3 separate regions of the Homo sapiens genome follow, and all the other regions are linked to region 3. Evidence: promoter capture Hi-C in 16 types of primary human blood cells and fetal thymus (Javierre and others, 2016). All regions are on one chromosome and are shown on one strand. The core of a region is centred on a gene start or on the middle of the fragment in contact, and the rest is flanking DNA. Distances in the headings are between cores, read along the strand shown. Region 1 overlaps ASTN2 (astrotactin 2). Region 2 overlaps ASTN2 (astrotactin 2). Region 3 holds the start of ASTN2 (astrotactin 2).

Region 1 (4,004 bases), core at 257-2,756, 670 kb before region 3:
GTAGGGGAGACTGTTTGGTAAGGGGGAGAGGCAAGGCTGGTGGGGAGAATGCAACTGAGGCAAGACTGGTGGGGAGTTGAACTTTGAGTGGACTAAACGTTTACCCTAGAGAAAATGTTTTGTATCCTTAATCAAAAAATGGAAATACTTGGCCGGGCATGGTGGCTTATGCCTGTAATCCCAGCACTTTGGGAGGCCGAGGCAGGCAGATCTTGAGGTCAGGAGATTGAGACCATCCTCGCTAACATGGTGAAACCCCGCCTCTACTAAAAATGCAAAAAAATTAGCCAGGCGTGGTGGCGGACGCCTGTAGTCCACGCTACTCAGGAGGCTGAGGCTGAGGCAGGAGAATGGCGTGAACCCAGGAGGCAGAGCTTGTAGTGAGCCGAGATCATGCCGCTGCACTCCAGTGAGACGGGATCTCACTCTGTCGCCCAGGCTGGAGTGCACTGGTGTGATCTCGGCTCACTGAAACCTCCATCTCCCGGGTTCAAGCGATTCGCCTGCCTCCCGAGTAGCTGGGATTACAGGGGTGTGCCACCCCACCGAGCTAATTGTATTTTTAGTAGAGACGGGGTTTCACCATGTCAGCCAGGCTGGTCTTGAACCCCTGACCTCAAATAATATGCCCACTTCGCCCTCCCAAAGTGCTGGGATTTCAGGCGTGAGCCACCGTACCAGGCAGAAACATGTTTTTGCTATCAGTGGAATGAAAACTTGAGAGAATTATTATGTCAGTTGTAGAAAATTAAGACAACAGTGTTTTTGTATACTGAGTTGCAGCAAAATAATTTTTGAATGCTTGACTGTGAGAATGGATGGTTATAGGTTAGAGGGATAAAGTCTAAGTTTCATCGGGAAAGTTCAGGGACAAAGGAAATGAAGAGAAGGAAAACTTAATGTAGACTGAGGAGGTCAGGAAGGCTCCCTGGAGGAGGTGAGACTTGACAGATTGGGAGGGGTTAACAAGGGAGAGGGCAGAAAAAGGAGGTGAGGGTGGGGCCTAGGCAGAAAGAACAGCATGCACAAAAGTCCATAGGGGTGTATGTGTGTGGGCGCATGTGTGTGTATGGAAGAGGCACAGATAAAACACATGGCATGTTCTGGAAATTGCAATAAGCTAAGTTTCAAGATGCTAAAGCAGCGAGTGAGAAGCAAGGATGGGATAGGGCTAGAGGAGGCCACATAGGGATCAGATCTCATGGGTTTTCTAAGTGATGCTACAGAAGGTGGGCTTCATTCTAAGGGTAAGGAGACCCACTGTAGGGTATTCAGCAGGAAAGCAAAACCATCAGATAGGAGCTTCAAAAAGACTGCCTGACTACAGGGTAGAGGATGGACTGAAAAAAGGCTGGAAGGAGGGAGACCAGTTAAGAGGTTTTGCAGTAATCCAGACAAGACATAACCGATTAGATGGACAACAGAATACAGAGAAGAGGCACAGATTTGAGAGAGAGTCAGGAAGTAGAACCTGCTGATCTCCATTGCCAACTGCACGTGGTGGGGAGTAAAAGAAGAGTCATGGGATATATTGAGCAGGTTTGAGCCCAAGCAGTCAAGCCCATGCTCCTGTGCTGACTCCAGAGACCTGCCTCCCCAGTATTTGCTTATTATTAGTACTAATAACCAGAGCCCTCCACACATGCCTGAGTTCATTAACCACAGCTAGAAAACAGACCAATGTGCTTTGTCCCATCACATATGTCCTCGGCCTCCTTTCTGCCTCTGCTAGCTGTCAGTCCACCTCAGCTTAACTGCTAACTGTGAGACCCACAGGAAGATGGCCAGATCTCAAGCCTAACCCCCAGCACTTCAAGCAGGCCAAGTCACCACCCAGACGGAGGCTCTCAGAACTGCAATTTGCTCCCTAGCAGAATGCAGCTTGTGACCCCTACTGTCCAGGGTGTTTCAAGGACCATGGCTGCAAAGTTGCTTTACTGGCCTATCCAGTGGCCCATACCCATGGGTCCACTCTAATCACATCTGATGCTCCTAGAAATGATAAGCATTACTGTTACCATTTGATAGGAAAAGAAGCAGAGGCAGTATAGAGAAGTGTCTTATTTAAGGCCTTGCAGGTGTTTTCTTGGCAGAATTGGACTGACTACCAATCCCTATTCTTAGTTTCCAATCCAGTCCTGTTTCGACTTGTGCATTCTCAAGGGTTAGGCAGAGTGACCTCTCTACCTGCCTGATACCTTCTCTGAACTGTGAACTCCTTCCAGGCAGCAGCTGTATTTGTTTCTTCTTTGCAGCCTCCTCTGCGCTCTCTCGTAGACTTCCCAGACAGACCTCGTGGTGTCGTCTCCTTCAGGAAGCTGTCACTGAGTCCCTTCTTTGGAAGCAATATCCTTCTGTTTCCACAGCACTTGACTTTGGCTCTGATCTCAAGATCACCAACTCTGCTAGGTATGATTGTTCTCTGCACGTGTTTCCCATCTCAGATTCAATGGTCAATGCTGCAAGGATCTATATAACTAGTTTCCCTCAGAGCCCTCCTCCCCACAGTCTGATTCCAGGGTTTGGTATAGACACAGTCCCTAATAGCTGTTCTTGAGGCCATCATCCCCTCTCATAGCGACTACTACAATGACCTGTTAACTATGCTTTCTGAATTCAGCCTTGCCCCTTCCAATTCATTTACTATCTTGCAGCCAGAACGATTTTCTGAAATGTTTCTAACACAAATATGTCATTAGCTCCATGTATTAGCATTCTATTGCAGCTGTAAAACATCATCACAAAGTTAGAGGCTCAAAACAACATTAATTTATTTTATAGTTCTCTAGGTCAGAAGTCTGACATGGGATTCTGGGCTAACATCTAGGTGTCAGCAGAGATGTTTCTTTCTGGAGGTTCTAGGGGAGAGTTGACTTCCTTGCCTTTCCCCTGCTTCTTAAGGCTGTCCATATGGCTCATGGCCCCTTTCCTCAATCCTGAAAGCCAGCCAAGGCAAACTGAGTACTTTTTTTTTTTTTTTTTTTTTGAGACAGAGTCTTGCTCTGTCACCCAGGCTGGAGTGTAGTGGCGCCATCTCAGCTCACTGCAACTTCCGACTCCTGGATTCAAGCGATTCTCCTGCCTCACCCTCCTGAGTAGCTGGGATTACAGGCATGCATCACCATGCCCGGCTAATGTTTGTATTTTTCAGTAGAGATGGGGTTTCACTGTGTTGGTCAGGCTGGTCTCAAACTCCTGATCTCGTGATCTGCCTGTCTCAGCCTCCTAAAATGTTGGGATTACAGGCTTGAGCCACCATGCCCGGCCAATTGAGTCCTTTTCACATCACACACTCTTACTTCATCCTATCCTCTGCCTCCCTCTTCCTCTTTAAAGATCCTTTTGGTTTCACTGGGGCCTCCTGGTTAATCCAGAGACTCTCTTCATCTCAAGATGAGCTGATTGGCAACCCTATTCCACCTGCACTCTGAATGTTTTCTTTTCTATGTAAGATAACTGATAACTTATTCATGGGTTCCAGGGATTGAGACATGGACATCTTGCATTATTCTGCCTTCACATTCTAGGTTTTTTTCTTTTATTTTCAGTTTTCTTTTTCCCTAGGAGGACTTTGTCAATGCCCCTCTTTTCATTTGGGAGTTAGATGTTCCTTCTTTGTGTTTGTGCAGCCCCTGTTCTGCTGCTATGCTAGCATTATCACACTGGACTGTTGTTCCCAGTCACCCTCTGTCTCCCTCATTGGACCATGAGCACTCGAGAGCAAGAACTACGTCTGTCTTATTCACTGCTGTGCACCCAGCCCTAACGCAGTGTCTGATGCATGCACTAGGGGCTCAAGAAGTGCTTATTCAATAAATTGCTGAATGTCTCTTAGCTGAATGGCAATGTAGGGGAGACAATCCATTCAGCTGTGGTACCGCGATCTCCCTCCCATGGGGCCTAGTCACTGCCTTATTCATCTCTGCCTCCCTTGCCGTCCTTCCTTCACTTCCCTAGATATCTAGCACACAGAATAACAAGTATCATTTTTAAAGCTAATATCT
Region 2 (4,140 bases), core at 405-2,904, 690 kb before region 3:
AAATTAGTTATGTAGCCACAGTGAGTGAAGGTTTTTATAAACATAACCTAATAGTATTACTTCAAAGTCCTGAAGCTTATTGCCCTGCTTAATGATGTGTCACATTATTTGTAGGGTAGCACAATGAGACTTCTATTGATTTAATGCACTTCCTTAAAGACTGTCATTGACACAGCCATAAAACGGAGCTATTCCCAGACAACTCAATTATATCCACTGTGCCCATAAACCACCCCGTGCCCCACACAGTTGCACACAGGAAGCAGAAAGGGCTGAGAGCACGACTGGGGATGCAAAGCCCCCAGGGACAAAAGGGAAGGGATCTAGAGATTGGGAAGCAGGTGGACTAGGGTTTTATCCAGTTGGGAATGTGCAGCTGCATAAAAAGCACTAGACAGGAGGTGTAGAGCACCCCACTTGGTCTTGGCCCTGCCAAGCAAAGCTGCGTGAAAGCTCCCTTCTTCTCCCCTATAGACTTAGTTTCCTCGACTGCAAAACTGGAGTGCTATGCTCAATGAGATCCTTCAGATCCCTCCTGGCTCCCACATTTTGTGGTTTTTTGTTATGATTGCTTTTGTTCTTGGAGATAGGGTGGCTGAGCTGTATGAAAAGATGCAAGCATGTTTTTAACATTGCTCTTCACCCTTTCCATCAATTGAGAGACTTTCTTTTACAAATAGTTGATAATAATAGTATTAACTATATCAAGAAGCATTTCAGTATAGTTGAAAGAGGGAAAGAACATGGGCTTTTGCAGCCAGCCAGCCTTGGGTTCCAATCCTGACCCTGCTACTTATTAGCTGTGTGTCTATGAGTACTTGATGTGGCATATCTGAGACTCATTTTCTCATGTGTAAAATGGGAGTATGAATACACTGACCTATTAAAACACATATATACACATGTGCGATATTCTAACTTCCTCAAAATGCTATTACATAAACCACTTATCTTTAATGTGAGAAGCAGACAAGAATAGCTACTTACGTACCCATTTCACAGGAAGAGAAAATTGAGGTGGAAAAGGAATAACCTTCACAAGGTGAGTGGGCAGAGACTGGTCTCCAGCACCTGGTCTGAGGAATTCCAATTCTGATAATAGCTGAGAGTCAGAGGAAAATGAAATCTGCTGGCCCTTCCTGAGGATAAAAGCCTCACCACAGGACAGAATGGAAACCGTCTGCTTGGTTATGAGGTGATTGTTTTTCCAAAGGAATTGAGTTCTTCTTGGGAGAGAAGAACCCAAGATCTTCTTGGGTTCTCCCAAGAAGCCTGGAGAGAAGAAAGTGTCAAGAAGACACCACTTGCTGACCCCCAACCTGATCTCTGGCAGTTGTTTCAAAGAGAGGATGTGGGAAGCAAAGTACCTGCAAGAGAAGGCAAGGGTTCTGGAGTCTAGAACACTAACTTGAGGCCTCAGAAAATGCCTGACTTGAGAGAATCCTGCAAAATCATTATACGATCCCTCACTCTGCCCATGGTGAAACTGAAGCTCAGAGAGAGGCAGGGACTTGCCCATGGTCACACAGCTTAGACGTGGCAGAGCCAGGATTTAGATCCAAGGCAGCTCAGTTGTCTCCCCAGACCCCTTGCCTCTATAGCCTGCCTGGCCACCTCCTACAGTAGGCACTCCGGGCTTACCTTTCTGATACTGGAGCCACAGCTGCTGCTGGACCTTCTTGCTGGGAAAGTGGATGATGCAGGTGAGCTCTGAGCCATAGAGGGCCTCTGCGATGTAGTGGGAGCCATAGTGCTGGATGAAGGACAGCAGCTCCTCCCGACTGCTCTCCTTGGTCAGGATCTTGAGAACATTAGTGAAGCCTGGACAAGAGAGGAGCATGTGGAGGTGGTCAGATGTGAGAGGCTGGCGGCTAGCAAATTATACGGTGGCAGGAGTTCTTCCCAACCTGTATTTTGTGCCTTACCCCTCAGCACAGTGGCAGCTTGGTGGCTGCACTAGTCCAAACATATACATAATTCCCTCACTTAAATAGCAATGAATGCCCTCTCTGAGGGGTACATCAGACACGGTGACCAAGAGGGAATCTGCAGGAGAAGAAGGCCTAAACTCAGCAACGTAGACCATGGGAACTTAAAAAAGATAAATCAAGAAGTCAAAGCTGATATCCACTCACTGAGCAACCAATGTGTACTGGGAAAACTGTTAGATGTTTCACCCTCTTTATGTAACTTAACCTTAGCCACAATCATATATAATTTGACAACAACAACACCCATTGTATAATGAGCAAGTCAAAGCTGAGAGACTAAAATTGAGTTATCTTGAACTTCCAGGTAGAGAAAGAAGCTGGACTCAAACCCACTTATGTTCTCACTGCACACTGCATGCATTTTCCACCACACCAAACAAACCAGGGCTTGAACTGCCCATGGCTGGAATCCTAAGGCTGCATTTGCCCAGAGTCAGCATGTATTCTGAGTCCATGAATCTGATTCCTGGTTTAGCTTCCTGTAGCATTGCTTTTCTTTATATCTCTGCTGTTCCCTCTCTTTAACAGTGGTATGTTCTCTCTCCCTAGATTTCCACAGAGCCTTCTTGCTGCTCTATTTCTTAGTCCTAGGCTAAGTCCTCAGCACTTAACATGGGGCCTGCACAGCAGTCACTCAGTAAAAACTGCTCCCTCTTTCTCTCCTTCCTCAAACAGGCACATGAGCAAGCTATTCTTCCAGGGACATTCCTGAGCTCCTCCCTGCTACTGGACAAAGCCTAGTGACCTTCTTTAGAAATTCAAGGTTCCAAGCTCATCTCTAATGAGCCACCCACACTAAGTTTTAGCTCCAGCCAAATTAGTTTTATTATTTATCCTGAATGTGACCTGAAATTTCTATCATTCTATCTTTCCTTGCATTCTCACTACACTCAACACACACACACACACACACACACACACACACACACACACACCTGAAATGGCCTCCCTATGTCCTCCCTAAGTCACACCTATGCTTCAAGGCCCCTGGAAGTCACCTCTTCTCCAAGAAGCCTTTCACATCATTATGGACAGGAGTGCCTACTGTCTGCACTTTCAACATGCACCACCTTAAAGTCGGAAGCTCTACCTTATTTGTCTCTATATCCGCACATGCATCCTCCCTGCACACCCACCCCAACTGGGTACATGGCCCAGTTCCTGGGACACAGCAAACACACCAACCACAATTATTACAAGAACAGCCAACACTGTGCCACATCAAAGTAAAATGTAAAAGAACAAGCTTCTCTCCAGCATTAAAAGTGAGCTCCAATTTGCCAACATTTGATTGACAAAAGGGTTTTCCGGGAGCATCATTATTGATTAATTAAAGCAGATGCACCTTTGTACTTCTAACAGGAACATCATAGTCTTATTCACAAATGCAGTGTGGGGTGTGGGGGGCAGAAAACAAAAATAGGGGGCTCAAAGAATGGGTGTTTGATGAGAACAACCCCTCTCCATCAACCTGTTAAGTAATACAACTGGGTAATTAATACAGTAGTGTTAATAACGAGATGGTTTCTGTTAAGTAATAAAAAACAATACCACAGAGATGCCCTGAGGGTCTTATCCAGGCAGACAAAACTGCAATCAAATCCTTGATTCATTCATTCCCTGCTCTGCCACTTACTAGCTGTGTGACCTTGGGCAAGTTATTTAACCTCCCTAACCCTCAGTATACTTATCTGAAGAAAAATGGGATAAATAATGTCTTCCTCACAGTACTGTTCTGTCATAAGAAATGAACTATTATAAAATGCTTAACAGATGTCAGCAATAATTACTATTTCTACTTCCCAGAGGGTGAAATCCTCCAATTCCCAGGCTGTAAGAGCTTCATTTTGCTGATGAACAAAGAAAAGAGAACAAAAGACCTCATAGATAATTAGAGGACACTCAGACAATAAACCAGTGAAAGTGTTATTAGTAAGAGTTAGGGTAGAATATCCTAGGTCAGGCCTCATCTTTCCAGATTCCTTCATTCATTCCTTATTTTTCAGTCTTCATTTATTTTTAAAAATTCCTCCATCATACATGAGCACCAACAACGTGCTAATCTTTGTTAGTTTTGGAGATACTGGAATAAATAAGACCCAAGCCCCGCCCACAGTTCTCAGGTCATAGACAAGATTCCAATATAAAT
Region 3 (3,646 bases), core at 992-3,491:
GGGGAGGTGGCAAGAGCCAGCTGTGAGCCTGAGGTTAGTCCGGCGGCGCTCTAAGGAACACCACCTCCACCCTCCTTCCCTTTCTCGGACATGGGCAGCCCCACAGGTGCACGTGGGAAGAGCTACTGGTTTGTGTGTGTCTGTGTGTGTGTGCTTGGTGCGTCGCACCCCAGAAGCGCCGCCGCGGGGAGTCCCCGAGGAACCTGCAGGACGCTCCGCTGCCTCTCCTCCCGGAACGCTCGGCACGCTCAGGTTACAGCCTGCGAGGGTGGGTACAGGGGCTCGACCCCCGAGGTTCAAGCTCAGAGCGGGAGAACCACTGGCACTCGCTCAAATCCCCAGAGGTGGTAGCATGAAAGGATGGGGAGTGGGTCACAAAAATACTTTTAACAATATCAGGGCTACCAGGAGAGTGGAGCGTAGTCCGCTGATTATTCTGTGGGTCTTTTCAGGCGAGCAAGGAGTTAACCTCGGAAGTTCAGGGATCGTAAAGGTTCTCACCTGGAAGGCCCCTCACCTGCGGTGCCCGAGGCGGATCCCGCCGAGGAAAAGACCCGGGGAAGAAGAGCTCCGGGTCTGGGCGAGCCCCTGGCGCCTCACGGGCGCTGTTGTTGGCCAGACTCCGACAACCAATAAGGCCCCGCGCCCCCAAGAGGGGAGGGGAGAGCGAGCAAGCAGCGAGCGCGGGAGAGCTAAGGGGAACAACATTTTTGTAAACGCTCTCCGAGATAATTAAGCTATCAATTACCCGGGTGGGAAATCAGCTGCGCTTCCCACAGCTCCACTGAAGGGCCGACTCCTCCGGGATTCGCGCAGGGAACCAGCAGGCAGCAAGCTGCTGGCGAACTTTTCTGATTAACTTTTCCGTTGGAGCCCCCCACCCACACCCATCTCCTCTCCTCTCCTTTTTCTTGCCTTTAAGTAATTATTATTAGCCCAGGGAGTGAGCTGCAAGGACAAACCGGCTCTCTGCCTGGAGGTGGGTAGAAAGGGAAGGCGGTAACGGGGGTAGAGGGAGGCTCTAAACGTGGAGACCTCGGAGTCGGAATCCCAGTTCTCAGCAACCACTCAAGTCTCTCCAGCCCTATTTCACAGATGGCCAGAACTGAGGCTCAGAGAAGGGAAGCGACTTGGCCAAGGTCACTCAGCCCATGCGGAAGCCACGCTTTTGCGGGTTGAGCGATTCCACACGGAACTACTCCATTCCTACTCTCATGAAAATCCATCTGGAAGGGCAGAACCCGCAACTCCGAGGCGAGAGCGAGGGGGCGGTGACGGCGGGTGGCCAGTGACGGTACCCGGAGAAGTGGGAGGCTCGACCTGAAACTGGCTTAGGATCTGGGATGCTCCGGCCCCTAGCCAGAGCACCTTCAGTGAATGGGGTCTCCGGCTTCCGGGATGGATCAAGCAGAGCTCCAGGTCGGGACTGAGAGGCAGAGGGGCAGGTTCCCACTGCGGGAGGGTTGGCACGCCCCCAGGCTCCCGCCGCGCGCTCTCCAGGACCTCCTCCCACATGCTCGTTTCCAACCACCTGTGCGACCTCTGGGCCCCTCCTCTACCCTCTGCCAACCCCACTCGGGGCAGCCCCGGGCAGGGATCCCCAGGGCGCCCCCACCCGTCCGGCATGACGCAGGGGCTCGGGGTTCCTTGGGATCTAGCGCGTGCCGGCGCCCAGCCTTACCCAGGGTGAAGAAGGGCAGCTCGGTGTTGTCCAGGTCGTCCTGCACCGCGATGCGCCCCGGCAGCTCGTTACGCACAAAGAGCAGGAGGCGCGACTCGGCGGCGGTGCCGGCAGAGCCAGGAGAGCCCGGGGACGCGGCGGCGGCGGCGGCTCCGGCCCCGGTCCCAGCCCCGGCCCCGGCGCGGGCGCCGCTCCAGCCGATGTCGCTCTCCCGCAGGGCGGGCAGTGTGGACACCGTGACGGTCTTCAGCCGGCACGGGCTGTCGGGCTCCCGCGAGGCAGCGGCGGTGGCGCCGGCCAGCAGCGGCGGCGGCGGCAGCAGGAGCAGGAACAGCAGCAGCAGCGGCAGCAGTGGCGGCGGCCCCGGGTGGAAGCAGAGCCTCGGCCGCCCCCGGAGCCCCGAGCCGGGGCCGGGGCTGAGCCGGGCGCCGGCGGCGGCCATGGCGGGAGGGGCTGCGGTGCTGCGGGCGGCGGCGGCGGTGGCGGCGGTGGCGAAGGAGGAAGAGGAGGCAGCTGCGGAGACGGCGGACGCCGAAGCGAACCAGGACGCCCGAGCTAAGGAGCGGAGAGAGCCGCTCGCCAGCAGCCCCCAGCTCCGGGCTCCGCCTCCCGATCGGCCCTGGACCGCCCCCCCGCGCCGCCTCCCGGGGCCCAGCCGCCCGTCCCCGATCTCCGGCTCCCCCCGCAGACCCCGAGCGTTTCGGAGGCTCCGCCCGGCCTCGTGCAAGTCCCAGTGGCTCCCTCCCCTTTCCCAAGATCCCCCAATTCCGCCCTCACAGCATTCTTTAGCCACAACACCCCTCCCTAAACTCCCCAAATTCCTAATACTTAGGGCCCCCTCGGGCCCCCCCAAGCCCCCCTGACTCAACCCAGTTCTCCTGGCTTCACCCCACCTTCGGCTCAACCCAGAGGCTGCACCTGGGGGCGCGCCTTGGCCCAGCCTTGCTCAAGGCCCCGCCTTCTTGGGGATAGGGAGCCCCCTGGATAGCCAAGACTTAACTTTGTCTCCCCTCAGGCCCAAGAACAAGTCCTTTCTCCAATCTCCTACCCTTTTCTAGTCTCTGAAATAACTTCCTGTAGCCTCAGAGCCCCCTTCCCACCCACTTGGCCACAACTCCTGCATTCATTCTCCCACTGCCCGCAAACCTTCCTCTCCCCTCCATCCAGGCCTTGTGCTAGCACTAATTGCTAATGGACAGAGGGGCGTCGAACTCCACCGTCTAACGCCGACCCCACAACTGACTGAAGCCGGGCTGTTCTGGCCCCCTAGCTGCCGCCCTGCAAGCCAGCCCACTCACGCTTTTTTATTTTGGATCCCTGCTCCCAGCTTGGAGCAGCTCTACTTGGCTGCTTCTGCTCTCTGTGTGAAATTCCTGAAAAGGGTGTGAGGTAGAGACCTACTATTCTGTCTGTCCTTGGCTCCCGGGTCTTTTAGATCCTCTGCCCAAGTCCCAGAGAACGGGAGTGCTCACCAATTCTTCACCTGCAGTCTTTCTAGACTCAAGTTGAGCTAGGTCCTCAGATTCAGCACCCTTTGGTCTTGGGCTGACTCTGTCTCTGACCCACATACCTGAGACCCTCCAGGGAGCGGACACCTCTGCATGGGTCAAGTGCCGTGCAGCCCCTTCCCCACTCCCCTACTTTTCTTCATCTTCCCTGTCTCTGTTTTCTGTTTCATCTCTCCATTCATTTCCTTCCTTCTCATCTTGACTTTAATCTTACAAATGCTTCTTTCCTATAATTTGTGAGCAACTTCTCATCTCTGTCTAGCTTACCCATCTGCACCTTTTGTGCTGTCTCTATGCATTCACTTTTCTCTTAGCTCTTCCCTCTTCTGTCTCATTCCCCTTTTCTATCTTTAACCCTTCATATAAATTGCTTTTCTCCTCTCTCATCATATATTTTTTAATAACGTTGGATAAAGGCAGAGCACTGAAAATAAGGAAAAAAGCAAAAGCTGTTTTG

Evidence for each region. Contacts are between HindIII fragments. The CHiCAGO score rates a contact against its expected background, and 5 or more counts as called.
Region 1: a fragment that was not itself captured here is called in contact with the fragment with the promoter of ASTN2 in region 3 in 2 of 17 cell types (monocytes and M2 macrophages); the score reaches 5.2 in monocytes.
Region 2: a fragment that was not itself captured here is called in contact with the fragment with the promoter of ASTN2 in region 3 in 1 of 17 cell types (M2 macrophages); the score reaches 5.0 in M2 macrophages.

Annotation. Positions count from the first base shown.
Region 1 is chr9:116,743,119-116,747,122 of GRCh38, forward strand. All of the region lies in intron 13 of ASTN2 (astrotactin 2), which reads right to left. Among named protein-coding and RNA genes, the nearest start is that of TRIM32, 58 kb to the left of the region's middle. The HindIII fragment of the contact is 9,300 bases long and covers 1-4,004 here.
Region 2 is chr9:116,724,130-116,728,269 of GRCh38, forward strand. It overlaps ASTN2 (astrotactin 2), which reads right to left. Exons shown (of 23, transcript NM_001365068.1): 16 at 1,642-1,821. Among named protein-coding and RNA genes, the nearest start is that of TRIM32, 39 kb to the left of the region's middle. The HindIII fragment of the contact is 3,162 bases long and covers 74-3,235 here.
Region 3 is chr9:117,412,816-117,416,461 of GRCh38, forward strand. It overlaps ASTN2 (astrotactin 2), which reads right to left and starts at 2,242. Exons shown (of 23, transcript NM_001365068.1): 1 at 1,682-2,242. The coding sequence starts at 2,123. The HindIII fragment of the contact is 7,467 bases long and covers 1-3,646 here.